7 separate regions of the Homo sapiens genome follow, and all the other regions are linked to region 4. Evidence: promoter capture Hi-C in human tissues and cell types (Jung and others, 2019). All regions are on one chromosome and are shown on one strand. Each heading gives the region's core, a stretch centred on a gene start or on the middle of the fragment in contact. The rest is flanking DNA. Distances are from core to core; before and after follow the strand shown.

Region 1 (3,589 bases), core at 774-3,273, 320 kb before region 4:
CATGGGATAAACACTCCTGCCGCCTGCCCCGGCCCCAGGCCCAAGCGTGCTTGGCGCCATCTGTGAGCCCAAAGCCACAGGGGCGCGGAGCCCCTCCCCACACCTGGCGCTCCCAGAAGGAACTCGGGCCACTAACTAAGATGGCTCTGCACTCCACTCCCGCCCCCTGCCACTGACTCTGTGACCTGAAGTTCTTTTCCTAACTTCTCAGTTACTTTCTCCATCTGTGAAATTTAAATACCAATTCCTCAGCCGGGCTGCAGGGAGGAGGGCGTGTGGGAGCACTGGGCCTCCAGCCCAGGACCCGACAGGGACAGCCTCCTTGGCAGGCTGGGGCAGGGGAAGCCAGGGCTCTGTGGGAACAAGGGGCCAGCGGCCTGGACCCATCACCGGTCAAGGACTTTCATCCTTGAGCAAAGTCACCAAAATGTAAGGAAAATCCCAAATCCACAGCTTCAGCCACACAGCCTCGGCAGCCTCTCCACAGGTGATGTGCGGCCGTTCCCTGCCCCAGCTCAACAGGAAATAGGGCACTCTGACCAGAAGCAGCCCCGAGGGCCAAGCTTCTTAACAGGGTAGCAGTGCAGGGGAGCCGGGGTCCTGGCCTCCAGCCTGGACGGGGAGGCCCGATCAGCCTTCCAGAGGCTCAGGTGGATGGTCGGAGACAGCAGAGCTGCCAGGTTCCCTGTGCCCAGAAGGTGTGGAAGGGCATCGTGCCAGGGCACCTCATGCCACCACAGGCTCCTGCTTCCAAAGTACAAGGCCCCGGGCACCCGGACTCCCTGCAGCTGGCTCTGAGCTCCACAGGAGAGGATGCCCAAAGAGTGAAGTCTCGGCAGAAAACCAGAAAGAGAGGCCAAGGGCAACATGAGGGAAACAGGGGCAGGGAGAGGCCGCCTCTGCCCCCGGGGGATGAGGCCACACTAGCTAAGCCTGCAGCGCCTGCCTGGGGCCCGCAGCCCACAGCCTTTTATGGCCAGCTCTGGGAACGCAGGTCAGTACTGAAAAGGCGATGACTCAAGGACTGAGGTTCCTCGCTCAGCAAAAAGGGGGCCCAGCTTCTCCCCTTGTCAAATCATTTGTCTTCAGCCCGCCACAAGCTGAAACTAGAATTCACACAGCTGGGGAGGCTGTGATGCCAAAACCGAGTTCTTGGGAATGAGGGCGCCCTGATGGGCTGTGCTCAGCCCATGTTAGCTTTGGCCTGGGAGTCAGGACGGCGCCTGGGGAGCTGAGGTCACCCTCCCAAACTCCACCCAGCAAGGCCCCACTCCCCCCTCCCCCTGGATGGCTGGGGGGCCCTGGGGAAAGAGAGAAAAAGGAGGGGAAGGAAGAAAGAAGAGTGAGCACTCCAAAACTCCCTGCCCCAGGTCCAGAAGCCCTGCCCCACCTGCTCTGAAACCCAGTTACTGGCCGTCATCTCAAGCTGGAGTCAACAGAGGTAAGCCCATTTCTTTGCAGGTGACTAAAATTTCCTGTTTATTACAGAAAATGTGCTTTTGCTGTGAGGGAAACACAGTGACTGGCCAGCCACACCCACAGGTGACAAAAAGGGCCACAGCACTCAGGCCTGTGCCATGCAGGCAGTGACCACGTAACTGCACGCCCCACCAGGCCCACCGGCGCTCCTTAGCCCACCAGGCCCTCGCTGCCCTCAAAGGCACCTCACTCAGCCTAAAAGACGCCGGGTTTCAAGAGGTGCCAAAGGCTACACTGCACAGCGGTAACACTGAGCCACTCTCTAGATCAGAGCTGGACGGCCGGTATCAAGTACAGAACAGGGCTTGCCAGCACCCCCGGCACTGCCCAAGGCAACAAGACTTCAGGCTTTGGCACCCACCAAGGTAGGGGCCTTGCTGTTAGCTTGACTAGCTCAGGCCCCAGTGGGAGTGACAGAACTGATGCCGAGCAAAAGGACACAGAAAACATGGCCCAAGCGGGTGGGCTGGAGAGAAAGGCCCACCTGCAGAGGGAGTGGTTTTAGTGAGTAAAAGCCAGAGCCCCCTCTGATAAGGGATCATAAGCCACCAGGAAGCTCTAGCTCAGAAAATCCTGGGACCTAGAAGACATGATGCTAAGTGATGAAATAAGTCTGTGACCTTTTCCAAAGATGACACACACGCGGCCAACGAGCATATGAAAAAACTCTCAGCATCACTAATCATTAGAGAAATGCAAATCAAACCACAATGAGACAACATCTCATAACAGTCAGAATGGCTATTATTAAAAAGTCTAAAAATAACAGATGCTGGTGAGGTTGCAGAGAAAAGGGAACATTTATACGCTGCTGGTGGGAATGTAAACCAGTTCAGCCACTGTGAAAAGCAGCTTGGCAATTTCTCAAAGAATTTAAAACAGAACTACCATTCGACTCAGCAATCACATTACTGGGCATAAACCCTAAGGAAGAGAAATCATTCTGCCATAAGGACACATGCACACATACGTCCATTGCAGCACTATTCACGATAGCAAAGATGGAATCCACCTAAATACCCATCAACAGTAGACTGGATAAAGAAAACATGGTACATATACCACAGAGAATACTATCCACCCATAAAAAGGAACAAGATCATGACCTTTGCAGCAACATGGATGGAGCTGGAGACCATTATCCTCAGCAAACTAACACTAGAATAGAAAACCAAATACCGCATGTTCCACACCAAATACCGCATGTTCTCACTCATCCATGGGTGTGAAACATTGAGTACACATGGCAACAAAGAAGAGAACAACAGACACCAGGGCCTACTTGAGGGTGGAATGGGTGAGGACAGAAAAACTGCCTAGCAGGCTGGGCATGGTGGCTCACGCTTGTAATCGCAGCACTCTGGGAGGCTGAGGCAGGAGGACTGCTTGAGTCCAGCCTGGGTAACATAGCGAGACCCCCCTCTACAAAAATTTAAAAAAATTTGGGTGTGGTGGCATGCATCTGTATTCCCAGCTACTTGGGACACTGAGGTAAGAGGATTGTTTGGGCCCGGGAGGTGGAGGCTACAGTGAGCTGTGATTGTGCCACTGCACTCCCAGCCTGGGTGACAGAGTGAGACCCTGTCTCCAAAAAAAAAAAAAGAAAAGAAAAACTACCTATCAGATACTACGCTTATTACCTGGGTGATGAAATAATCTATACACCAAACCCCACCACACTCCATTTACCTGTATAACAAACCTGTACATGTACTCCTGAACCTAAAAGTTTTTTTAAAACATCCTGCCACAAAAGGACAGATACGGCACTGTAGGATTCCACTGACAGGAGATACCAGGAGTAATCAAGTGCACAGAAAAGGAATATAGAATGGGGAGTGCAGGGGCTGCGGGGTGCAGGGAGCCACGAGGGGAGCTGGTGTTGAACAGGAAGAGTGTCCATTTGGGAAGTGAAGAGCTCTGGAGCTGGATGGTGGTGACGGCTGAACAATGAAGAATGTGCTAAATGCCAGTGAAATGCACACCTACAAATAGTTAAAATCTACTTTTCTGGGGTCCATGACCAAAAAACGTGGTTAAAATGAGGCCGGGCGCAGTGGCTCACACCTGTAATCCCAGTGCTTTGGGAGGCCAAGGCGGGCTGATCACC
Region 2 (3,348 bases), core at 1-2,500, 390 kb after region 4:
AAAACACCTCAAGCACAGAAAGAGCAGAGCAGAAAAGGAGATGGCTCAGGGCTGAGGTGGGCCAGGCATCCTGACCATTCCACCCACTTTCTCCTCTTTTTAGCTCTGAATGCCCAGGCTGCCCTCTCCCAAGCTCGGGAGCACCAGCTGGCCTCAGCCTCAGAGCTCCCCCTGGGCTCTCGACCTGCGCCCCAGCCCCCAGTACCTCGTCCGGAGCACTGTGAGGGAGCTGCAGCAGGACTCAAGGCAGCCCAGGGGCCACCTGCTCCTGCTGTGCCTCCAAATACAGATGTCATGGCCTGCACACAGACAGCCCTCTTGCAGAAGCTGACCTGGGCCTCTGCTGAACTGGGCTCTAGCACCTCCCTGGAGACTAGCATCCAGCTGTGTGGCCTTATCCGCGCATGTGCGGAGGCCCTGCGCAGCCTGCAGCAGCTACAGCACTAAGAGAAGCCCCTGAGAAAAACCCTCTAGAAAAACAGCTGTTCCTCTGTGTGGTTTGTTTTTTTCCTGGTTCCAAGTGTGCATGCCAGCCCCAGCTCCACTCACCTTTTTCCAGCTTTTGGCCTCTTCACCTCTCCACTCTGCTCTCCTTGACGCCCTGAGATGAGTTGAGCTTGTTTCTTCTCAGTTTCCCCAGTCAGGATGAGGGAGTAGGTAGAGGACTATGTGATGCCCCTTTTCTAAGGAAGAAGCCATAGCCTTTTCAAAGGTAGCAGCCAGAGGGGTGGACCCTAGCCTTGTCTCTGGCAGCACCTCTGCAGCCTCTTCCGCCATCTGGTGTCCATTCCCCACCTGGAAGTGAGGTTTTGTGTTCCGATCCCCTTGATAGATTCCCCTCCTTCCCCTGAGCATCCTGACCCTATCAGCCTATCCCATCTCATGCCCACCCCAGGTACTCAGACACCGACAGGAGTTTGTGGTGACCCCAGCGTCAGGTGGCACGTTAGGCACCAAGTGTGGACTTGCCAGTCTCCTGACTCCACTGTTAGATCATTTTCCTTGGGTGTGGGGGCGGGGCGGGGCGCGGCGGGGAGACGGGGTAGCAAAAAGAACCGTGAAGAAACCACGCCTGCCCCCTTCAGCCTTTTCCCCCCTCCGCCGCATTTTTCCATCTCCCCTTGAGTGAGTGGATGTCCCGTTGCCTTTTCTCAGCTTTGCGCGACGTGGTCCCACAACCGTTGCCTTTTTAAGAGAGGCCCGGCCCATCCAGAGGGGGTGGGGCAGAGGCGGAGTCTGAGGAGCTGGGGAAGGAACAAAGCGAGGCCTGCGGGCGGCGGCTGGGCTCCGGCGGGGCCGCGGGGTGCGGGGCCTGCGGGCGGCGGCCCGGGCGGAGCGTTGGAGGGAAGGAGGTGGCATCGCCGTCCGCGCCGGCCCCGGCCATGAACGGGCTGCCCTCGGCAGAGGCGCCGGGCGGGGCGGGCTGCGCTTTGGCCGGGCTCCCACCGCTGCCGCGCGGCCTCAGCGGCCTCCTTAATGCGAGCGGGGGCTCGTGGCGGGAGCTGGAGCGCGTCTACAGCCAGCGCAGCCGCATCCACGACGAGCTGAGCCGCGCCGCCCGCGCCCCGGACGGGCCCCGCCACGCCGCCGGCGCCGCCAACGCGGGACCCGCAGCCGGCCCGCGTCGTCCTGTCAACCTCGACTCAGCGCTGGCCGCGCTGCGCAAGGAGATGGTGAGTGGGTGGGCGCCGGGCCAGCTGGGCGGGGGGCTGACGCGGAGGAACGCAGGGGACTGGGACAGGCGGCCTGGGTCTCAGAGGACTTGCAGGCACCAGTTGGGTTGCAAGGGTTATGGTAACAATAATTAGTGATAGTTACCAATTATGGCAGTAGTTACCATATATTTTCAAATGTTTTGCTGACGTTACTTCATTTCATCCGGCTAAATGGATAACCCCATTTTTTGGGTGAGGGTCATGACTAAAGTTGCATAGCTTGCAGGTGGTGCCTGATGTCCACAAAAACTTCGTTTAGGAAGGTGCGGGGAAGATGGGCTGGGGCCCACTATTCCAGGGGGCGGGGCTGGGCTGGGGTGGCCTGGACCCCAACTCCAGCCCACCCTCAGTTGTCTGCAGGTGGGGCTGCGGCAGTTGGACATGTCCTTGTTGTGCCAGCTGTGGGGCCTGTACGAGTCAATCCAGGACTACAAACACCTGTGCCAAGACCTGAGCTTCTGCCAGGACCTGTCATCCTCCCTCCATTCGGACAGCTCCTACCCACCGGATGCGGGCCTGTCTGACGACGAGGAGCCTCCCGATGCCAGCCTGCCTCCTGACCCGCCACCCCTTACTGTGCCCCAGACGCACAATGCCCGTGACCAGTGGCTGCAGGATGCCTTCCACATCAGCCTCTGAAGGGCTGGGGGGCAGGGGGCATGCACCCATGCAAAAGGCTCAGAAACTCCCCCTCCGGCAAGCCCTCAGACTTCGGAGCCTGCGCCTTCCCCCCTACCGCCTCACCTCACAGGAGGGCCAGGCATGTATTCCTCAGAGGCGAAACTGCCAAACTCTTTCTCCTGTCTTGGGTTGGCTGGCACTGGGGCGGGCATCTAGGGTACAGCCTCTGCTCATGGCACTGGGCCTCCAGTTCTTCCACATGTGTGCACCCCCAGCTTGGCCAACCCTCAGCCTTGCGGTGGGGCCCGAAGCATCTTCCCTTCCGCTTGGCGTCTCTGGGATTGGGATGAGTGCCTGGCTCCCATCTCCTCCTCACCTTTTGTTGCTATCGGCAGCTGCTGGCTCAGGGGCATCCCACCTCCGGGCTCTGGGTTCCTCTGCCCTGGAAGGGCTCCAGGACCCGTCCCAATAACCACCCACGGCCAGGAGGGCCAAGGCCCCGTGCTGGATATTTAAATTTAGGGGCCGGTCTCCAGGGCGCGTAGATAAATAAATACACTCAGCGTCGTTGTGCTCTGCCTGGCTGGCTCTGGGGCGGGAAGACCGCGGTGTTTGTGGCAGGTGCGGCCCCGCGCTCTGCCAGCAGGTGGCGCCCGAGACCCCCTCCCCCCCCGCCCCGCGCCGAGTGAAGGCCCTGCCGTCCCGCCGGGGCGGGGCTGGGGGCGCTGCCTGCTGGCCGAGCCTGGCTCAGCCGCCGGGTGACTGCGGTCGAGTCACTTCCCCTCTCTCGCCCGCGACCTCCGAGTCCCCCGCTCCCTCCTCCCAGTTCGCTTCGGGCTTTCCCTGCCTGCCGGGAAGGAAGGAGAAGGAGCCGCCCACCTTGAGGAGGGAAACTTTCCACCCCGCGCGGGGCGGGGTTGAGGCGGCGCAGGAAATGGGTGGCCGGAGTCGCCGGAGCAAGGGGCCCCGGCGGGGGCGGGGGAGGCGCCTCCGGGAACGGCCTGGGACCTCA
Region 3 (3,426 bases), core at 544-3,043, 290 kb before region 4:
AAGGAACAGAGAAAACAAACAGGGATAGTGGATGACGAGGTGTAGGAAGGGGGACGACAGGGAACTGGAAAAGATGTAGATACACAAACCTGCCGCAGAACATGAGGAACAGGCTGTGAGCAGTGGCTCGCCTGGAAGGACGCTTAGGACCTCAGTGGCCTGGAAGACAGCAGGGGCCTGGGAGCTGGGTGACCTTGAGCAAGTAGCGTAACCTCTCTGAACCACTGTCCATATGTCAATCAGGACTTACGAGGCCACCCTGCACGCTGGGCTGGCCTGGTGGGAAGCATCCGCCCTGGGACCCTTGGGTCTCTCTCCGCTGTGGGGAGAGGAAGCAGCTGCTGGCCAGGGTCCCTGAGTGAGCCCAGGGCTCTGTGAGGCAGAGCTTCCTCTTGCAAAGCGTGTTCTCGTCCCTCCCAGACAGGTTCCGGTGACAGGTGCCAGTCCTGCAGAGACCCAGCAGGCATTTTGGGAGACTCCAAAGCTTCTGGAGAGAAAGGGGAGCTTTTAGAGTAGACTTGGGCCCTGCCCCCTTTGCCAGTGGTGCATACAGGCCTAGAGAGACAGAGGGGGCCGCCCAAGGTCACAGAGCAGGGCCCCAGGGCCTGTGCTGCCCCAACAACCTTCCCGAAGTGGCGTCCCCCCTTCTCAGGATGCAGTCAGGGTGGGATGGGGGATCCCTGGGCTGGAATCCTTCTGCCTGGGGGGACAGACCTGCGAAGGAAGACACCGTAGCTGGTGGCTGGCCCTCCACTCAGCCTGGCGGCCCTTCCCACAGAGGCCTGGGCGAGACCAGCCTCCTGCAGCGTGGTGTCCAAGTGCCCTGGCCTGGCAGAGACAGCGCCCGATCAGGAATCCTGGCTCCACAGCTCTGAGCGCTGATGCTAAGGCCCCCTTATCCCACAGTGGAAACCAAGGCACAGAGAGGAAGGGGCTCGTCCCGGCCACCCCATGGCTGTCCAGGTCCCTTTCTTCCTCAGGATTGGCCACCCTTCAGAGAGGTGCCTGGGTTCAGGAGCCTCCTAGGACAGGGAGGGCGGCAGGGGTCCTACCACTCAGGAAGCCTCTTACCTGAGTGCCGGGCTGGCCTTCGGGGCACAAGGAGGAAGTGGGGACACCCTGGGCCCAGGGCCTTTTGAGCCGTTGACCCAGCCCCTGGTGGTGGTTAATGATTATCCCACCACCGTCAATACTGATCACAAGTGCGGTTCGAAGGGCAGGAAGCCCTGGACTGTGCCCGGGCAGGGTGGGGCGGGTCCAGGAAGCATCAGGCTGGGCCCCATCTGCCTCTCCGGGTGGCATCAGCACCGAGTCTCCACAGCCCTGTCTCCTCCAGGGCCTCGCCCTCCTGGTCTCTTACCAGCCTGCTGCCCCAGCTGTCCGTGGGCAGCCAGGACCCCAGGGTCCCTCGGGACAAAGCTTCTGCTCTGTTCCCAGTACCCAGATCTCCCCCACTCAGAAGGGGCCACAGAGCAGGGCTGGGGGACCTTTGCTAACCCCAGAGGCCTGCGGAACCTAGCAAGGTGAGGGTTCCCTGATTCCCAACCCGAGCCTTGGTTTCCCCATGGACCCACCCACCTCTGTGCAGCGCCACTGGGAAGCAGGGCAGGGAGGAGCGCGATGGGAGCAGCTCACAAGAAACAAGATGTGTGGGGGGCAATGGGCGCTCCCTGGTCCTGTGTAAAGCTTTGTGCAGTGAGGGTTGGGATTCCGGCTGCAGCGCTGCTCCAGCACCCCTCCCCCCTCCAAGTGCTGGAGCTGGGACCCCAGATCAGAGTGGAAACCAAGGGGCCAAGGCCTGGGCCACCCCAAAAGCCCCCACTAGGGATGGTGAGAGCAACATCTAGAATGCCTCAGGCTCAGCCTTCCCCGAGTGGCCTCAAGTGACAACCAGGCAGGGTCAGCTGGGCTCCAAGGACCATCCCTCCCTCCCCTGGCAGCCCCACGTAGCTCCTGCCACATCAGGAGTGGGGCTGGAGTGGCAGCCTCCTGGGAGGGGCAAGGCAGAGCCCAGAGCCAGGGGAAGGCGTGCAGGGCTGGGTGCCTCTGGGTCCCCCTGTGCCCTGATCTGCTGGGCAAGGCCAGGAGGCATGGCGACCCCTGGTGGTGACATGGGAGGTGCTGGGTGCAGAGGTGGGATCTGGGGCGGGGCCAAGGTCAAGGCTGAGGCCAGGGTTCACAGGGACAGAGGATCTGAGAGGGGGGCTGGCGGTGGGCAGTTTATTCCACTTCATGCAGACACTGACCCACGCACTCACGGAGCTTAAAAATAATACATCGAACCACACGGATATCATCCCCTCCTCCCCCCAGACACAGAAAGACACTTGGCTGAGTGGGATGGGGTCCGAGGGTCCAAAAGCCTCCGTCCTGGGAGAAGGCAGCAGTGTGGGCCCAGGTCGGGGGAGGGGCAGTGTCCTTTCTCCCCGGAGGAAAAGTGCAGAGCCAGGGCTAAGGCCCCAAGGCAGGGAGGCCCCCCTCTCACAGCAGATTGGCAACGGGCAGGCTGGGAAGGCGTCCTTCACAGTGGCCATCCCCTGAAGGGCCAGGCCGGGCCGGGCCCGTGGGCTGCAGCTCTTGGGAGGCTCAGGAGCATGGTGGGCAGCACCCTCTGGGTGCCGGGCACCCCAGGCTCAGTCTTGGGCACTGTCCGAGCGCCACTTGAGGGCGTGGTCCTTGTGGGCGTCGGGGACAATCTGGTTGCGCATGCCCCCGAGCAGGCTGGACGTGGCCTCCGTGGCCAGGATGAGCGGCTTCACCACAGTCGGGGGCAGCTGGCGGATCACGCCCCCCACGGCGCCCGTCAGCCCCTTCTGCTCATGGCCCCGCGATGCCACGTCACAGATGGTCTGAGCTGTATCCAAGATGCCCTGTGGAAGCCAGAGGTCAGGGCGGGGTCTGTGTGAGGAGATGGGCATGGGGGACTGGGGCAGGGCGGGGGCCTGGTCACCTCTCGCACTGTGTCGTAGGCCTTGGCCACACCCTCCCGCAGGTCGGCAGGCTGCTGGCCCCTGCGCAGCCTCCGCGCAGAGCGCTTATCCTGCAGGGAGCGGGAGACGGGGGCTGCCGGGGACAGGATGTCATACACGGTCTCAGCTGTGGCCTGGGGGACATGGGAGCACTGGATGAGGACAGCTGGCTGGGGCACACGTCAGCCCCAGGCCCCCAGGACAGTCTGAGACCCCACCAGCCCTCAGCCTCCCTGCCTGTCACTGTGCTGGCCTAGGGGGTCCTGCTCAGCCTCACTCCCCACTTCCTCCCACTCTTCCTCCCCTTCCTAGGCACCTGCCACTCTGCTGAGGGAACCTAGGAACGTGGGACTCCTCAGGGGACTTTCCTAAAGTCTTCTCAACCCAAACCTCTCTTCCTGCTGACCACCACATTCAGCAGGTTCCACATGGCTGCCGCAGCTGCACGCCTGAGACT
Region 4 (3,728 bases), core at 1,229-3,728:
ATTTGCATTTCCCTAAGAGTAATGCACTCAGTGTTTTTTAATGTGCCTATTTGCCATCCAGAGATCTTTTTGGATGAAGTGTCTGTTCAAATGTTTTGTCCATTTTTTGACAGGCGCGGTGGCTCACCCTGTAATCCCAGCACCTTGGGAGGCAGAGGCGTGCAGATCACTTGAGGTCAGGAGTTTGAGACCAGCTTGGCTAACATGGTGAAACCCTGTCTCTACTAAAAATACAAAAATTAGCCTGGTGTGGTGGCGGGCGCCTGTAATCCCAGCTACTGGGGAGGCTGAGGCAGGAGAATTGCTTGAACCCAGGAGGTGGAGGTTGCAGTGAGCCAGGATCGCGCCACTGCATTCCAACCTGGGTGATGGAGCGGGACTCCATCTCAAAAACAAAAACAAACACCAGAAAACAAACAAATGTTTTGTCCATTTTTATTGGATTTTTATTCAATTGTAAAAGTTCTTTATACAAGTCCTACATCAGATAGAATTTTTACAAATATTCGTCCTAGTCTATGGCTTATCTTTTCATTTTTAATAGTTTCGTGCATTTTGAGAAACAAAAGCGTTTTATTTTGATGAAGTTCAATTTATTGATTTCTTCTATCATTTACACTTTTTGTGTCATATTTAAGAAATCTGGCCAGGTGCCAAAGCTCACACCTGTAATCCCAGCACTTTGGGAGGCTCAGGCAGGAGGACTGCTTGAGCCCAGGAGTTCATGACCAGCCTGAGTAACACAGCAGGACCCCATTTCTACAAAAAATTTAAAAATTAGCTGTGTGTCGTGGCACGTGCCTGTAGTCTCAGCTACTCAGGAGGCTGAGGTGAGAGGATCTCTTGAGCCCAGGAGTTTAAAGTTACAGTGAGCTGTGATCAGGGCACTGCACTCCTGCCTGGTCAATGAAAGCAAGACCCTGCCTTTAGAAAAGAAAAAAGAAATCTTTTCAAACCCAATATTGTTAAGATTGTCTCCATTTTTAAAAAAAAAAGTTTTATGGTTTGGCCATTTATATTTAGGTGTGTAATCCAGTTTGAGTTAAATTTTGATGGTGTATCCTAAATAGTTATCAAATCCATCTACTTCTGCCTGCCACCTCTCTAGTTTAAACCACCCTTCTCTGTCCCTGGACACCTGCGCAGAAAGCCTAGGAGCTGGTTCCACCCATCACTCACCAGGTTAGGTATTTCAGGCAAGTCACACCCTCTCAGGCCTCAGTTTTCCTCTTTTGTTAACTGAGGGTGAAAGTGGGGTTAGATTAGATCAGCGGCTCTTAACTTTTGAGGGGTCGTGGGCCCTAGAGTCCTGGGAACGCTATGCAGTTTCCTCAGCAAAATGCTTGCATCCACAACATGCAAGACTGCAGCAGCTGCTGGGCTGGGGCTGCGAGACCAGCGAAAAGCCCTGACTTGGGGGGGTCTCGGGAGTCTCTGCAGTCTCCCCACCCACACCCCCGGCCTCCGCGCCGAATCCTGGCCCCCCAACTTCTTGCAGCCCGTGAAGCAGGATCTCAGGGTCCTGGGGGTGGGGAGAGGGGGCTGCCGTCCTGCTCGCAGCCTCTGCCGCCCTCTCCTGGGTAAGGTGACACATGGGCGCTTCCAGGTGGGTGGGCTGAGAGCCTGGGGGAGAGAACAGGGATGTCCACCTCTCTAAGTTTCCAGGTTCAAGAAACCCCAGAACGTTAGAGAAAGATGGGCTCCCACAATTGCCCAACCCCATCCCATAGGATGCACGCATGCGGAAAGTCGGGCCGAACGGGGCAGGGACTTACCCAAGGTCACGCAGCGAGCCCGGTCCCCCTGCGTTCCCCGGGGAGCGCTGAGCCGGGACGCGGCGGTGGGGTGGGGAAGGGGAGTGGCGCGGCCCTGCGGGGTGAGGCTGCCGTTTGCTGAGTGTCCGGCAGGGGTCTGCTCGCTGCCAGCCCGGCCCCTCCTCAGAGCAGCTGCCGCAGCCCGAGGTAATCTCGGCCCCGCGCCGGGGCTGGCTGGGAACGGCGGGAGCAGCTGCGGTCGCGCGGAGCGAGGGGAGCTGGGGACCGGGCGGGCCCGGGGCTGCGGGAGGCGGCGCCGCCGCACAATCGCCCCGGAATGCCCGCCAGGGCGCGCGTGGGGTGCGGCCGTCCGGCCCTGCAACTCGAGCTGCTGCCCCTGGTTAAAAATACCCCCTGCCCGGCCCTCCCCCTCCGTTCCCCGCGGTGCCCTTCCGCCGCGCCCCAGCCCCCCCATCCCCCCCCGCGCTGGCCCCTCCCCGGGGACTGCTCTGCCTTTTACTAATTTGTCCTCTCGCGGAATTGGCCCCCGGCCTGCGGAGGGAGGGGCGGGGAGACACCGTGAGTAAGAGATAGTCAGAGACCGTGCCGGAGAGATAAGGGAGAGCCGAGAGGAAGCGGGGTAGGAGCCCCAGGAGGAGGAGGAGGAGAAGGAGAGAGGGAGGGCGGAGGGCGGAGGGGCGGCGGGAGGAGGGCGGGGAGGAGCGCTCTTCCTGGTTGGGCCCTGCCCTGAGCTGCCACCGGGAAGCCAGCCTCAGGGACTGCAGCGACCCCCAAACACCCCTCCCCCAGGTAAGAAGCTGGGTAGCCGAGCCGGGATTCCTTGACCCTGGCCACTGCTCCTGGGCTGAGGGGCTGCCCCAGCACGGTCCCTTCTCGGGGGCCTCTGCGTTCCTGGAGCAGGGGTGGGGGCTGGCGGAGCGGCACAGCCCAGGCGCCTGTCCCAGCCTGGCTCACCGCTGTCCCCAGGGGCTGGGCTAGGGCCCACCAGCTCTGATATCGAGCCTGCTGCGGGGGCCTGAGGAGGGGGACCCCGACCGTCTGGGGTTTTCAGCCCACGGCAAGGGGCCGGTGCACCAGGAGCTTGGTTAGTTTGGGGAGGGGGTTGCAGGCCTGTGAACAGGATCAAAGAGGCCTTCCCTGCTGTGTCCCACCTGCCCAGTTCCTTGTGCTGTCTGGAGGCTCCGCCCTGCCCCACCTGACCTGCTGGCTCACTACAGAGCTGCAAGCCCCTGACAATGGGATCCGGGAAAGGAGAGGTGGCCGGCACGCCTGGGAACTGGGAAATCCCTTTCCTGGATTCACTGGGAGCACCGGGAGGTGGCTGAGAACCCTACTTCTGTGAGGGGAGCAGTGAGGCAGGGAAACCCTAGGTTTGGGGATGGATAAGCAGGGGCAGGAGAGCAGAGCTTGCAGGCAGGAGCCCAGGTTCTAGTCTTGGGAAGGCCTGGGTTCTGAGCAGGCCCATCTGTCCGGCAGGATGTCGGAGGAGATCATCACGCCGGTGTACTGCACTGGGGTGTCAGCCCAAGTGCAGAAGCAGCGGGCCAGGGAGCTGGGCCTGGGCCGCCATGAGAATGCCATCAAGTACCTGGGCCAGGATTATGAGCAGCTGCGGGTGCGATGCCTGCAGAGTGGGACCCTCTTCCGTGATGAGGCCTTCCCCCCGGTACCCCAGAGCCTGGGTTACAAGGACCTGGGTCCCAATTCCTCCAAGACCTATGGCATCAAGTGGAAGCGTCCCACGGTGAGAGGGGCCATCCTGGGTGGGACTCGGCTAAGCCAGATCCTGGATGAGGAGTAGGGATGGGACTCCATGTCCCTGGTGGGGAATGGGGTCTGGGGTGGCCTGGTGCCAATTTCTGGGAGGGGCTGGCCGAGGAACAGGACTCTGGGTCTCTCGTAGGAACTGCTGTCAAACCCCCAGTTCATTGTGGATGGAGCTACCCGCACAGA
Region 5 (3,307 bases), core at 808-3,307, 340 kb after region 4:
GCTTGGTAAAAGTCATCGCCATTCTCCATTCTCTATTAACCAGGGACATGATGCACTGTGCAAAGCCACAGGGACCTCTGCCCGAGAAAGCCTGGGTATTGTCTCCCCGACTGAGACAGCCTGATATGGCCTTGTGGGAAGGGAAAGACCTTACCATCCCCCAGCCCGACACCCGTAAAGGGTCTGTGCTGAGAATTAGTAAAAGAGGAAGATCTCTTTGCGGTTGAGATAAGAGGAAGGCCTCTGTTTCCCGTATGTCCCTGGGAATGGAATGTCTTGGTGTAAAGCCCACCAGTCATTCTATTCTGAGATAGGAGAAAACTGCCCTATGGCTGGAGGTGAGATATGCTAGCGGTGATACTGCTCTGTTACTCTTTGCTACACTGAGATGTTTGGGTAAAGAGAAACATAAATCCAGCCTACGTGCACATCCGGGCACAGTACCTTCCCTTGAACTTATTTATGATGCAGATTCCTTTACTCACATGTTTTCCTGCTGACCTTCTTCCCACCATCACCCTGTTCTGCCGCAGTCCCCTTGCAGAGATAGTGAAAATAGTAATCAGTAAATACTGAGGGAACTGAGAGACCAGCGCCGGTGCAGGTCCTCGTATACTGAGTGTGCCGGTCCCCTGGGCCCACTGTTCTTTCTCTATACTTTGTGTCTTATTTCTTTTCTCAGTCTCTTGTCTCCACCTGACGAGAAATACCCACAGGTGTGGAGGGGCAGGCCCCCTTCAAACATGTTGGTCAGGCTGACCTGGAACTCCTGACCTCAGGTGATCCTCCAGCCTCGGCCTCCCAAAGTGCTGAGATTACAAGCGTGAACCACTGTGCCTGGCCCTCACCCCAGTTTATAGATGGGGGACCTAACGCACCCAAAGGGAACTGTGTGAGTTCTCACATCCAATGAGGGGCTGAACCGTGATTGAAACCCAGCACCGTCTCACTGTGGCATCTCTGCCCTTGAGTTATCTCCCAAAGGCATCCCAACCAGACTTTTCATAACCAGTCCCAGAATCTCACCAGTGCTCCATAGCTGTGGTTGAGGCACTGTCCCCAAGCCTGGGTCCTGAGACCCTACCAGCAGAAGAACCACTGCCTGTCCAGCCCCTCCTACACAGCTCAGGGGCTGGATCCCCACCAGTGTGATGTGCTGATTGAGCTAACACCACTCCATGGCTGTCTACACAGGCACTGAGAGATGCAATCCGTTGGCTTGAGAGCCGGGCAGCTGAGCCCAGGAGAGCAGGGTCCCCTCCCAGCCCTTTGGCCTCTTCCAGACCTGCCCAGTTGCTCCTTCTCCCTCCCTCCTTTCCTGGGGTCACTTCTTCTTCCCTCCTCAGTCTCTCCTTCCTCCATTCCCTGGGTGCCCGCCCCTGCCCCGGGGTTCTGGACCTCCTTGGAACCTTGGATTCACTCTCTGCCTCTCACCCACGCTCTTTCTCTGGGGCGTCTCCTCGTGCTTCTCTCATGGTCACTTCACCAGGACCGACTCCTCCCCGGAGCCTGGAGGCACCCACTTGCTGGTGGGAGAGAGTGTCTGGCGTGGGGCCAGTCTCCCTCTCTGGGTCTCTGCCTCACTCCTCACTGCACCCTCTCATGCCTGTCAGTCTTTCTACCTCTCCCCCTTTTTGCCTCGGTTTCCCCATCCCTCTGTCCCTTCTTAAGCTCTCATCCTTACAGTACGCTAGAAGGCAGGCTCTATTATCCTTTAGGATTTAGGCCTCTTTAGATAAAAGGGCTCACAGGCTTGGAGGGTTTTAAGTGACTTACCCGGCGGCGGAGTACTGATCTTAGTACCGCCCGCCGCCCCGGACTGCCCCGCCCCTCCCTAGCCCCCCCATCCCCGCCCCTCCCTAGCCCCCCCATCCCCGCCCCTCCCTAGCCCCCCCATCCCCGCCCCTCTCCCGCCCCTCCCTTGTCCCCGCCCCTTCCCGCCCCAACTCAGGTTCTGCCCCACCCCGCCCCAATTCACGTCCTGCTCCGCCCCGACGTAGGCCCCGCCCTGGCCCCCGGGCCCCGCCCCCGTCTGACGCAGGCCCCGCCCCCTCTCCGCCCCGCCCCGGCTCGGGCGGCCGGAGGACCCGGAGCTAAGGCGCCCGAACCCGCGGCGGCGGTGGGGACGATGTGGTTCTTTGCCCGGGACCCGGTCCGGGACTTTCCGTTCGAGCTCATCCCGGAGCCCCCAGAGGGCGGCCTGCCCGGGCCCTGGGCCCTGCACCGCGGCCGCAAGAAGGTGAGTGCGGCCGAGCTCCGTAGGCCGCGGTCGACCTGGGCCTTGCCTATTCCGCGCCGCCGACCCCGTCGCGTTGCGCCCGGCCTGACGTGGCGGCGGAACCAAGGGGTAGCAGGCCGGGGAGGGGGCGGGCAGTGCCTACGTGGCGGGCGGAGGGACCGAGGGACCGACAGGCGGACAGGGCCGGGGTCACGTGGGCCCGGCGAAGTGTCCCTAAGGCTGACCTGGGGAGAGACCTGGCTGCGGGCCCTTGTCTTCCGGCCACACAACAGCTCTGGGACCATCTCAGGCCCCGCTGCCCTCCCCTAGGCCACAGGCAGCCCCGTGTCCATCTTCGTCTATGATGTGAAGCCTGGCGCGGAAGAGCAGACCCAGGTGGCCAAAGCTGCCTTCAAGCGCTTCAAAACTCTACGGCACCCCAACATCCTGGCTTACATCGATGGACTGGAGGTACCTGCTGCCTTGCCTGCCCGTCTCTGCCCCTCACGATGTCCTGGTTACCCACTCCTGTCTCCCCTCCTGCCCTGTTTCCACCCTATGTGCCCCAGCACCCCCAGATTTGGTTTCCTCTTCCCCATCTCTCCCAACTTCAAGTCGCTTATCTCTCCTTCCTCTCTGCCCCTCCGCCCTTGATAACCCTGTGTCCCCTTCCCCAGACAGAAAAATGCCTCCACGTCGTGACAGAGGCTGTGACCCCGTTGGGAATATACCTCAAGGCGAGAGTGGAGGCTGGTGGCCTGAAGGAGCTGGAGATCTCCTGGGGGCTACACCAGATCGTGGTGAGGTGGGGGGCAGTGGTGATGAGAGCAGGGATGGGGGGTTGCAGGTGCTGGGGCGTGATGGCTCCTTTTGCCCCCAGAAAGCCCTCAGCTTCCTGGTCAACGACTGCAGCCTCATCCACAACAATGTCTGCATGGCCGCCGTGTTCGTGGACCGAGCTGGCGAGTGGAAGCTTGGGGGCCTGGACTACATGTATTCGGCCCAGGGCAACGGTGGGGGACCTCCCCGCAAGGGGATCCCCGAGCTTGAGCAGTATGACCCCCCGGAGTTGGCTGACAGCAGTGGCAG
Region 6 (3,457 bases), core at 198-2,697, 410 kb before region 4:
ACCTGGGCCCGATGAGCAGCCCCACAAAGTTGATTTCTGGGTACTCATCTTGTGGAATCATGACTTTATCACTCACACGTGTTGCTGGAGGTCTAAGAAAGAAAAGCCTGTGTCACCGCACATTTCTGGAGAATGACACAGCCAGCGGCTTTTCTAAAACCAAATATTGGTACCAAGTGCTAATTATGGGTGACTTGAGGCAAGAGGTGAGTAGTACCAATACTGTCCCATCCCAGCAGGTCACCCATGATCTGCATGTGTCTTCATCCCAGATGACCGAGCCCCTCCGCTTACTTGTAATCTGCAGGTGGCTTGAAATCCGGATTGAGTGCAACCATCTCTGTGATGAGGTTGTGCCGCTCCTCTTCCAGCTTTTTGCGGGTGCGGAACTCTCGGGTGTTAAGCCGCTTCCCCTCGCTATTGTAGATGGGCTCAGGGGAAGGGGACCTGTGGGAAACAGACTCCCGTTTACTATTCTGCACCGACTTCTCTCATTCCCACACGGACTATAACAAGTCTTTCCCAGCCCCTCTGCCTCTCAGACCCTAATACAACACTCTTCGGAGGAACCGACCATAACGTGTGCTACTCAAGATCGTGTGGAATGGGGAGATGGAAGCTGGCTTAACGTTAGGGGTCTGGGGTGTGTGTGAGAAAGGAAAAAAATAAAAGATTTTGCATCTAGAAGTGATGAGAGGAAAAAATGTCTATTCTTTGGGGAAAATCTTTGGACTGTAAGTGGCAAGGACAGTATCATCCCCTGGAGTCTTCTTGCCAAATACGGATTTTCTTCCATTTGAAAAAAAATACATATCCCAACTTTATGAACCACAGAAACCCCAAGTTTAGGCAAAAGGTTAACTCTTGGAGAGCTCATGCCCTATGAGGAAAAGCTTCTGTACCCCTAACACATAGTATGTATGAGCTCTTTAACCCAATGCAACTGGGACTGAAGGCTACTGCAGCTACTTGGCCCCCACAATGGAGAGAGATGGTTCGCTTCGTCTTTGCTTTTCCTTCAATGGCCTGGCTGGCTGTGTCCAAGGCCCAGGAGACAACCTGTTTTCTGGCTGTTCGAGGTTGGGGAGTCTGGGTAGAGAAAAACGTTAAAGTGCTAAAGCAGCTTCTGCGAGAGGCTGCAAATGCAGATTTGGTCATACTTGTCTAGGGTCTGAACCTGCAAACAGCAAGGGGAAAACCTATGATTCTCCACCAGAGTTTACAAGTCCAGAAAGCAGATTTTCTCTCTCTCATTTTTTTAAGGAGTAAAATGCTGTTGCTACAAGTAAAAAAATGTAATGATAAAATGGTCAGTTTACCACAGCTGGATTTTGCGGTAATAAAAAAGAGAGGTTACACTCCTAGAATTTTGAGTTAAGATTACAAAAAGGACCATAGCTTGATATTCTGAATGAAAATTTAGTAGCAGCTGCAAGAAGGGAAGAGACCATGTGGATCAGGTTATTAAAAAAACATACTGAAAGTAATCAAGACTCCTATACCCTTGGTTTAGTTGAGAGAACCTTGCCTAGTTGGAGAGCAAGGACTGAACTCGGCTGCTCCCACTGTCTTCAGCCTAAAGGGAACCATGTCACACCACGTTACACACACGATGGAATAAAAGGTCAGGTTTGTTCATGGCTAATGACGGCTAAATGACACCTCCGTTTCTAGCATTTGTATAAACTGTTAGCACAATCCATTAAGAGTGAACAAAAGCAAACATACCCCAGCTCATTAGACTACCATCTTATACATTTAAGTCTACAAGAAAAGTTTTAAACATGTTTTTACTGTGCAAGTTAAGCAGCATCAAAATAACAATAAAGTGGCTTAAGTGATATAACACCTTTTTAAGAAATTATCTTAATTAAGAAAACCCATGCATTTCCCTCCAACCTGGGCTCAAAAGCAAAACCAATCAGGCATTAGGGCCTCTTTCAAAACTGAATAGAAGGGAGGAAAAACCCTGCTCTGGTTTTATTTCTAACATGCTTGACATTTCTAATTCCCACCCCACAGCTGTCTAGAATTAAGCATTCTTAGCTAGTTACAAAAACAAGTCTTACCAGCACCCAATTGGCCATGTGAAGGCCTCACAACAGTTTAACCTCCTCCCAAATTGCAGAAGTGAAAGGCAAAAGCTAGTATTCTAGAGGTTAGACTGGCCCGACTTCTTCACCTCCAACAGGCATCGGCTAGATCAACTAAATTCTAATCCCAGTTATCCAGGAAGCAAAGAAGGTTTGTTAAAAATTCAACCTTTGGAGGAATTGACTGGTGACCTGTAGACATATTATTAAAGGGAAAAAGGCCAAAAAGGCACTAAACAGTTGTGGTCTATGACCTACAATGTAAATTTAAAAAAAAAAAAAATCTTCAAAAAGAAACGAAACACAACACAACCCTACAACCAAAATCTATCTATAGGTAAAATATAGCAAATGTAGTAAGTCAAATTAAAGAGTCAATATGGAGAAACAAGGAAGTTAATGTTTCCTGGCAAAGGGCGGAAGAAAGATGCATGAGTGAGTGACTTCTAAAGCCATTACATCATCTTCCTGATTTAATAAGCTATTAACTGGGTAACAAAAACCAAAAACACTACTTTTTAAAGCAAAGTCTTTTCAACTATTCTGTATGTACTAAGAGAAAATTCAGTGAGAGGGAGAGACTTACTGCCCTTCTAATTAAATGACCAATTTTAGCTGTTCAATCAGCTAATAAAATTCCAGTTTAAAAAAGTTCATCTCCCCCACACAATTTATTTTTCTGAGGTGAGAGAAACTGCAAACTGAAATGACATGACCACAGCTGTTTGAGGCCCACGCTCCCTTTAAGGAAAAAAAAAAAGTAATTTAGGGTTGGTTGCATGCCTTCCCAAAATAGGTGAGAATATTCTGGCCCCTCCCAACACCCCCAAGGCAATGGCCAAGGCTGAAAGTTAACTGGCAGTGAAAGAAGTTGGTTAGAAATCTCATCTGATTTTGAAACCATCTCAAAACCATGAGCAGGAAGACTGCAGCAATGAGCTGACCAGAGCTCCTGGCTTGCTCAAGTTCAGTGATGCTCAAAAATATTTTTAGTCCCTGCACTGTGTACCTGTGAGAAAAACTCTATGCCCTGGGCTTTTGGCCAAAGCAGGTACTGAAAAGGCAGGTTAACGGGCCACCTCACTGTCCCCTAAGGGTGGGTAAATCAGGTTAAGATCTACATGCTTACCAATTGGAAACCAGTTGTCCATTTTCCTGTAACTTTTTATTCTCCCAACATTTTTAAGTTTTATTCCAATTTTCTAACTGTTGACTGACCATACATATTTCTAATTAAACCTTAATCCCCAAAGTGGTCAGGGTACAGTCGTCATACTATGATTTTATTGAACTGACACAATATGTTGCCACCAGTAAAACGTATTGAGAAAAAGGTAAAAGCGTTACTGTCAGCTGGTTAAAAC
Region 7 (3,580 bases), core at 748-3,247, 310 kb after region 4:
TAGTAGAGACGAGGTTTCACCATGTTGGTCAGGCTGGTCTCGAATTCCTGACCTCAAATGACCTGCCCACCTCGGCCTCCCAAAGTGCTGGGGTTACAGGCGTGAGCCACCACGCCCAGCCTGGCTTCTGGAATTTTCTAGCCAGAACACAGTCTCTCCTGGGCCCTGTTCCTGTTGTATCACTTCCTGTACTAATCTGTTCCCCTCATGGCTAGACCGAATGCAGCCTGACCCCTTGGATAAGCTTCCAGGAGAAAGCCCACAGGATGGGCAGCCAGGGCGTGAGTGTCCCTACAGCTAACTCAGGGAGATGTCCGGGCCCCAGAGGCCATCTGCCTGCATCTCTAAAAAGTGCTGTGGGAATGTAACTTTTCTGAGTCTTAGATTCTTCAATTGTAGCATGAGGGGCTACTTAGAATTATGGATTTTCAGGATTGGAAGAAAAATCTCAAGTTTTCTTGACCAGCTTCTTCGCAATGCAGGGATACTGCGGAACCCTAGGAAGGTCACCCAGCTTCCAGAGGATACCTGTGGGAATGGGAACTTGCTACCTAGAGGTTTATTCCACTCAAACACTGGGTGGCTCTGATCCACTATTACCAGTTCAGGAGAAGGCCCTGTCATTCTGCGGGCTTCTGTTTTAATCCGGCATTGTTGAGAAACACACCCCGACAAAGTGCCTGAAACCTTGTGGCCGCTACCCCCTTGTCCCAGGAGATGTGTGTCTGTGGGATGTGGGCCACACTTGCATGAGGAAGAATGAATATACGTGTGTGTGTGTGTGTGTGTGTGTGAGCATGCTCATGGAGGATGTTTAATCAGCTTCATGCTGGGTGTGCCAGGCCAATACAAACATCTGCCAGGGACCTGAAGCATGACTGAAAAGATCAGGGACACAAGAACGCGGCTGCGACTCCCTGAGAGCTTCATTGTTCCTTCAGGCCACTTGGGAAGGTTCACTCAGCAGGCGTCTCCCGCGGTGACTCATCATGGGGCAAGGACAGCAAGGGCTGAGCCGGGCTCACTACCCTGCACTGGGCAGGGGGCGGGTAGGAGGTAGAGGGGTGAATGCTCCATCAGAGCTGCATGGAAACCACAGGTGGCCTCTGGGTTTTCTCCCCTGTCTCTGTGGATGGCAGTTGGTTCAGAAGTTCTGAACAGACCTCCAGAGCAAAGCAGTTCCCAGTTTCCCACGCAGTACAGCTAGCTCAGTCCCATTCCACTCCATCCTGATGGGCATTCGAATTTACGTCAAGTCTAAATCCGTTCTGTTCCTGTGGAATGATCTGTTCCTGTGGAATGATCTGTTCCTGTGGGAGCTTTTCAGTATTCTGGTTGTGTGTGTGTGTGTGTGTGTGTGTGTTATAAATTCCAAAAAAGATACTATTCCAATGTATTCATTGAGTCATTACTCAGTAGACACACATGGAGCTTCTACTGTGTGCCAGGCTCTAGTGATCTGGCAAATGACAGCTCTTTGCCTCAGTTTCCTCATCCGTCTAAGGGGAAAGCAACACCACCTCCCCCACAGGGCTGTTGTGAGGCACAGCACTCAATACACGTTACAGAAAATAAAGATGCACATGGAGTGGATAGACGGTTCTACAGACGCAGCCCCCAGGAAGGCATGGGGGACAGCCCAGTTGTGCCCCTCGATGTCAATCTGTCCTCCTACAGCCCACAGTGCTACAGCTGGGCTGCCACAGCCAGGCCTTTCGGGAGGATCCACCAATAGGCTTCAGGGCCCAGGGCCAAGTACATTACGCAGCAAATAGACCAAGGAAGGAACTAGGAGCCTGGAACTCTCAGGCAGGGGGTGGGGAATTGCTTTCTTAAGACACTTTCTCCTAAGAAAGAACAACAACAACAAAAAAGACACTTTCTCCTTTATTCCCCTCCCCGAAAGAGGATTCTATCTAACAAGGAATGCTTGCTAGAAGTAGAGGTGGGTACATTTAGAAGATGTTTTCTTGTCTCAGGAAGAGAGAATCTGTTTCCCCTACCCTCCTGCCCTGGTGATTCAGGGCTGTGATGGAAGAGGCCCCAGCTGCCTCTTCCGCATATCATTTTGGGAAGGTCAATGACACAGCCACTTCTAGTTTCTGTAACTCATTCTTGCTGGAATTGCCCTCAGCTCTCTGTGAAGTGACAGGCCTGTCTGCTGGGTTTCAAGGGATAATTTTACATGTTCTACAGGGTAAATTATTAGCTGTCCAAAACCCCCTAGAAAACAATGCTCTGTCTTCCATATCATAGAGCTCTGAGCTGCATCATCTCTGTAGGTTTTTTCCTGCTGTGGGGGCGGTCACAGTAGGTGAGGGAGCCTAAGTTTGTGCAGCAGCTACGGAAGGTCACATTGTTCCAGAAATCGGCTCTGGGAAGGTGGGCAGCCAGGGGATGGGATTGGGAACTGCAAATTCCTAAAATCTTTAGAAAACAAGAAAGTTTGGGCTGGGTGTGGTGGTTCATGCCTGTAATCCCAGCACTTTTGGAGGCAGAGACAGGCGGATCACTTAAGGTCAGGAGTTTCAGACCAGCCTAGCCAACATGGTAAAACCCTGTCTCTACTAAAAATATGAAAACTAGCCGGGCATGGTGGCAGGCACTTGCAATCCCAGCTACTTGGGAGGCTGAAGCAGGAGAATCACCTGAACCCGGAAGGCAGAGGTTACAGTAAGCTGAGATCCCGTCACTGCACTCTAGCCTGGGTGACAAGAGCAAAAAACTGTCTCAAGGAAAAAAAAAAAAACAAAAACCAAGAAAGTTGTTTTCTTGGGACTGTCTTTGCCCTTCATTTCTGACCTGCATTTCTAGAGAGCTCTAGAAATGCAGAATTAAAGAAAAAATTACAGGATTAGATAAAATCAAAGGAGGCCTGGGAGGAATCCAGGTGCCATGAAGACTCAGCCACTGCGGCCTCTGGGCTCCAGGGCCGTAGATGACGGATCTCTCAGAAGCTTGTCTCTTGACTAAGCCTGACTGGACTTGCCAATCAGGGAAGGGGTGGAGTGGATTCTGGCATTCTCTGGAGGTTTCCGGCCTGGCCTGAGTCAGGAGGATTAAGGTAGGGCCTTGCTGACTGTATGCTTGGAGGCTGGATGCAAAATTTTTGCCCTTTTAGTCCTTTTCAGCACCCCGCCTTCTCGAAGGTACAGCCAGGAGGCCTAAGATCTTTCCTTTTTCTTTTTTTTTCAGACAGTCTTGCTCTGTTGCCAGGCTGGAGTGCAGTGGCACCATCTCAGCTCACTGCAACCTCTGCCTCTCGGGTTCAAGCGATTCTCTTGCCTCAGTCTCCCGAGTAGCTGGGACTACAGGTGCCCTCCACCACACCCCAGCTAATTTTTGTATTTTTAGTAGAGATGGGGTTTCACCATGTTGGCCAGGGTGGTCTCGATCTCTTGACCTGGTGATCCGCCTGCCTCAGCCTCCCAAAGTGTTGGGATTACAGGCATGAGCCACCACGCCCGGCTCCAGCCTAAAGTCTTTCATGTCCTCTCCCCAACCCTTTGTTTACTGTATTTTATAGAATCAGCATCATGGCTTCTTGCATGGAATCCTCTCATTTTACATATCTCAGTTG

Evidence for each region. Contacts are between HindIII fragments. The study calls those that stand out against the background at their distance.
Region 1: a fragment that was not itself captured here is called in contact with the fragment with the promoter of CAPN1 in region 4 in 1 of the 25 tissues and cell types used here (spleen).
Region 2: the fragment with the promoter of FAM89B here is called in contact with the fragment with the promoter of CAPN1 in region 4 in 1 of the 25 tissues and cell types used here (lymphoblastoid cells).
Region 3: a fragment that was not itself captured here is called in contact with the fragment with the promoter of CAPN1 in region 4 in 2 of the 25 tissues and cell types used here (dorsolateral prefrontal cortex and lymphoblastoid cells).
Region 5: the fragment with the promoter of SCYL1 here is called in contact with the fragment with the promoter of CAPN1 in region 4 in 1 of the 25 tissues and cell types used here (adrenal gland).
Region 6: a fragment that was not itself captured here is called in contact with the fragment with the promoter of CAPN1 in region 4 in 1 of the 25 tissues and cell types used here (liver).
Region 7: a contact is called between a fragment that was not itself captured here and the fragment with the promoter of CAPN1 in region 4, in 1 of the 25 tissues and cell types used here (spleen).

Annotation. Positions count from the first base shown.
Region 1 is chr11:64,863,613-64,867,201 of GRCh38, forward strand. All of the region lies in intron 2 of EHD1 (EH domain containing 1), which reads right to left. Among named protein-coding and RNA genes, the nearest start is that of MIR10392, 13 kb to the right of the region's middle. RefSeq lists enhancers at 1-596, 2,210-2,509. The HindIII fragment of the contact is 8,078 bases long and covers 1-3,589 here.
Region 2 is chr11:65,571,288-65,574,635 of GRCh38, forward strand. It overlaps FAM89B (family with sequence similarity 89 member B), which reads left to right and starts at 1,251. Exons shown (of 2, transcript NM_001098785.2): 1 at 1,251-1,673; 2 at 2,076-2,903. The coding sequence starts at 1,383. The coding sequence ends at 2,354. ZNRD2 (zinc ribbon domain containing 2) reads left to right here. Exons shown (of 4, transcript NM_006396.3): 4 at 104-601. The coding sequence ends at 447. RefSeq lists silencers at 1,122-1,571, 2,851-3,348. The HindIII fragment of the contact is 7,840 bases long and covers 1-3,348 here.
Region 3 is chr11:64,892,340-64,895,765 of GRCh38, forward strand. ATG2A (autophagy related 2A) reads right to left here. Exons shown (of 41, transcript NM_015104.3): 40 at 2,951-3,103; 41 at 2,207-2,870. The coding sequence ends at 2,634. It overlaps MIR194-2HG (MIR194-2 host gene), which reads right to left and starts at 1,110. Exons shown (of 3, transcript NR_133640.1): 1 at 1,072-1,110; 2 at 251-487. The HindIII fragment of the contact is 4,598 bases long and covers 1-3,426 here.
Region 4 is chr11:65,179,450-65,183,177 of GRCh38, forward strand. CAPN1 (calpain 1) reads left to right here and starts at 2,479. Exons shown (of 22, transcript NM_005186.4): 1 at 2,479-2,564; 2 at 3,252-3,519; 3 at 3,679-3,728. The coding sequence starts at 3,253. It overlaps CAPN1-AS1 (CAPN1 antisense RNA 1), which reads right to left and starts at 2,385. Exons shown (of 2, transcript NR_145677.1): 1 at 1,776-2,385; 2 at 422-1,623. RefSeq lists silencers at 1,798-2,247, 2,849-3,143 and enhancers at 2,166-2,955, 2,956-3,728. The HindIII fragment of the contact is 8,891 bases long and covers 53-3,728 here.
Region 5 is chr11:65,523,026-65,526,332 of GRCh38, forward strand. SCYL1 (SCY1 like pseudokinase 1) reads left to right here and starts at 2,058. Exons shown (of 18, transcript NM_020680.4): 1 at 2,058-2,239; 2 at 2,549-2,689; 3 at 2,896-3,018; 4 at 3,099-3,307. The coding sequence starts at 2,129. RefSeq lists a silencer at 1,906-2,405. The HindIII fragment of the contact is 17,278 bases long and covers 1-3,307 here.
Region 6 is chr11:64,769,962-64,773,418 of GRCh38, forward strand. SF1 (splicing factor 1) reads right to left here. Exons shown (of 13, transcript NM_004630.4): 4 at 295-447; 5 at 3-92. Among named protein-coding and RNA genes, the nearest start is that of SF1, 6.9 kb to the right of the region's middle. RefSeq lists an enhancer at 2,775-2,864. The HindIII fragment of the contact is 3,620 bases long and covers 1-3,257 here.
Region 7 is chr11:65,491,025-65,494,604 of GRCh38, forward strand. No RefSeq gene overlaps it. Among named protein-coding and RNA genes, the nearest start is that of LINC02736, 4.7 kb to the left of the region's middle. RefSeq lists silencers at 638-1,139, 2,834-3,128, enhancers at 814-1,108, 1,945-2,455, 2,456-2,967, 2,459-2,588, 2,834-3,128 and 1 more and a cis regulatory region at 2,867-3,109. The HindIII fragment of the contact is 5,007 bases long and covers 1-3,580 here.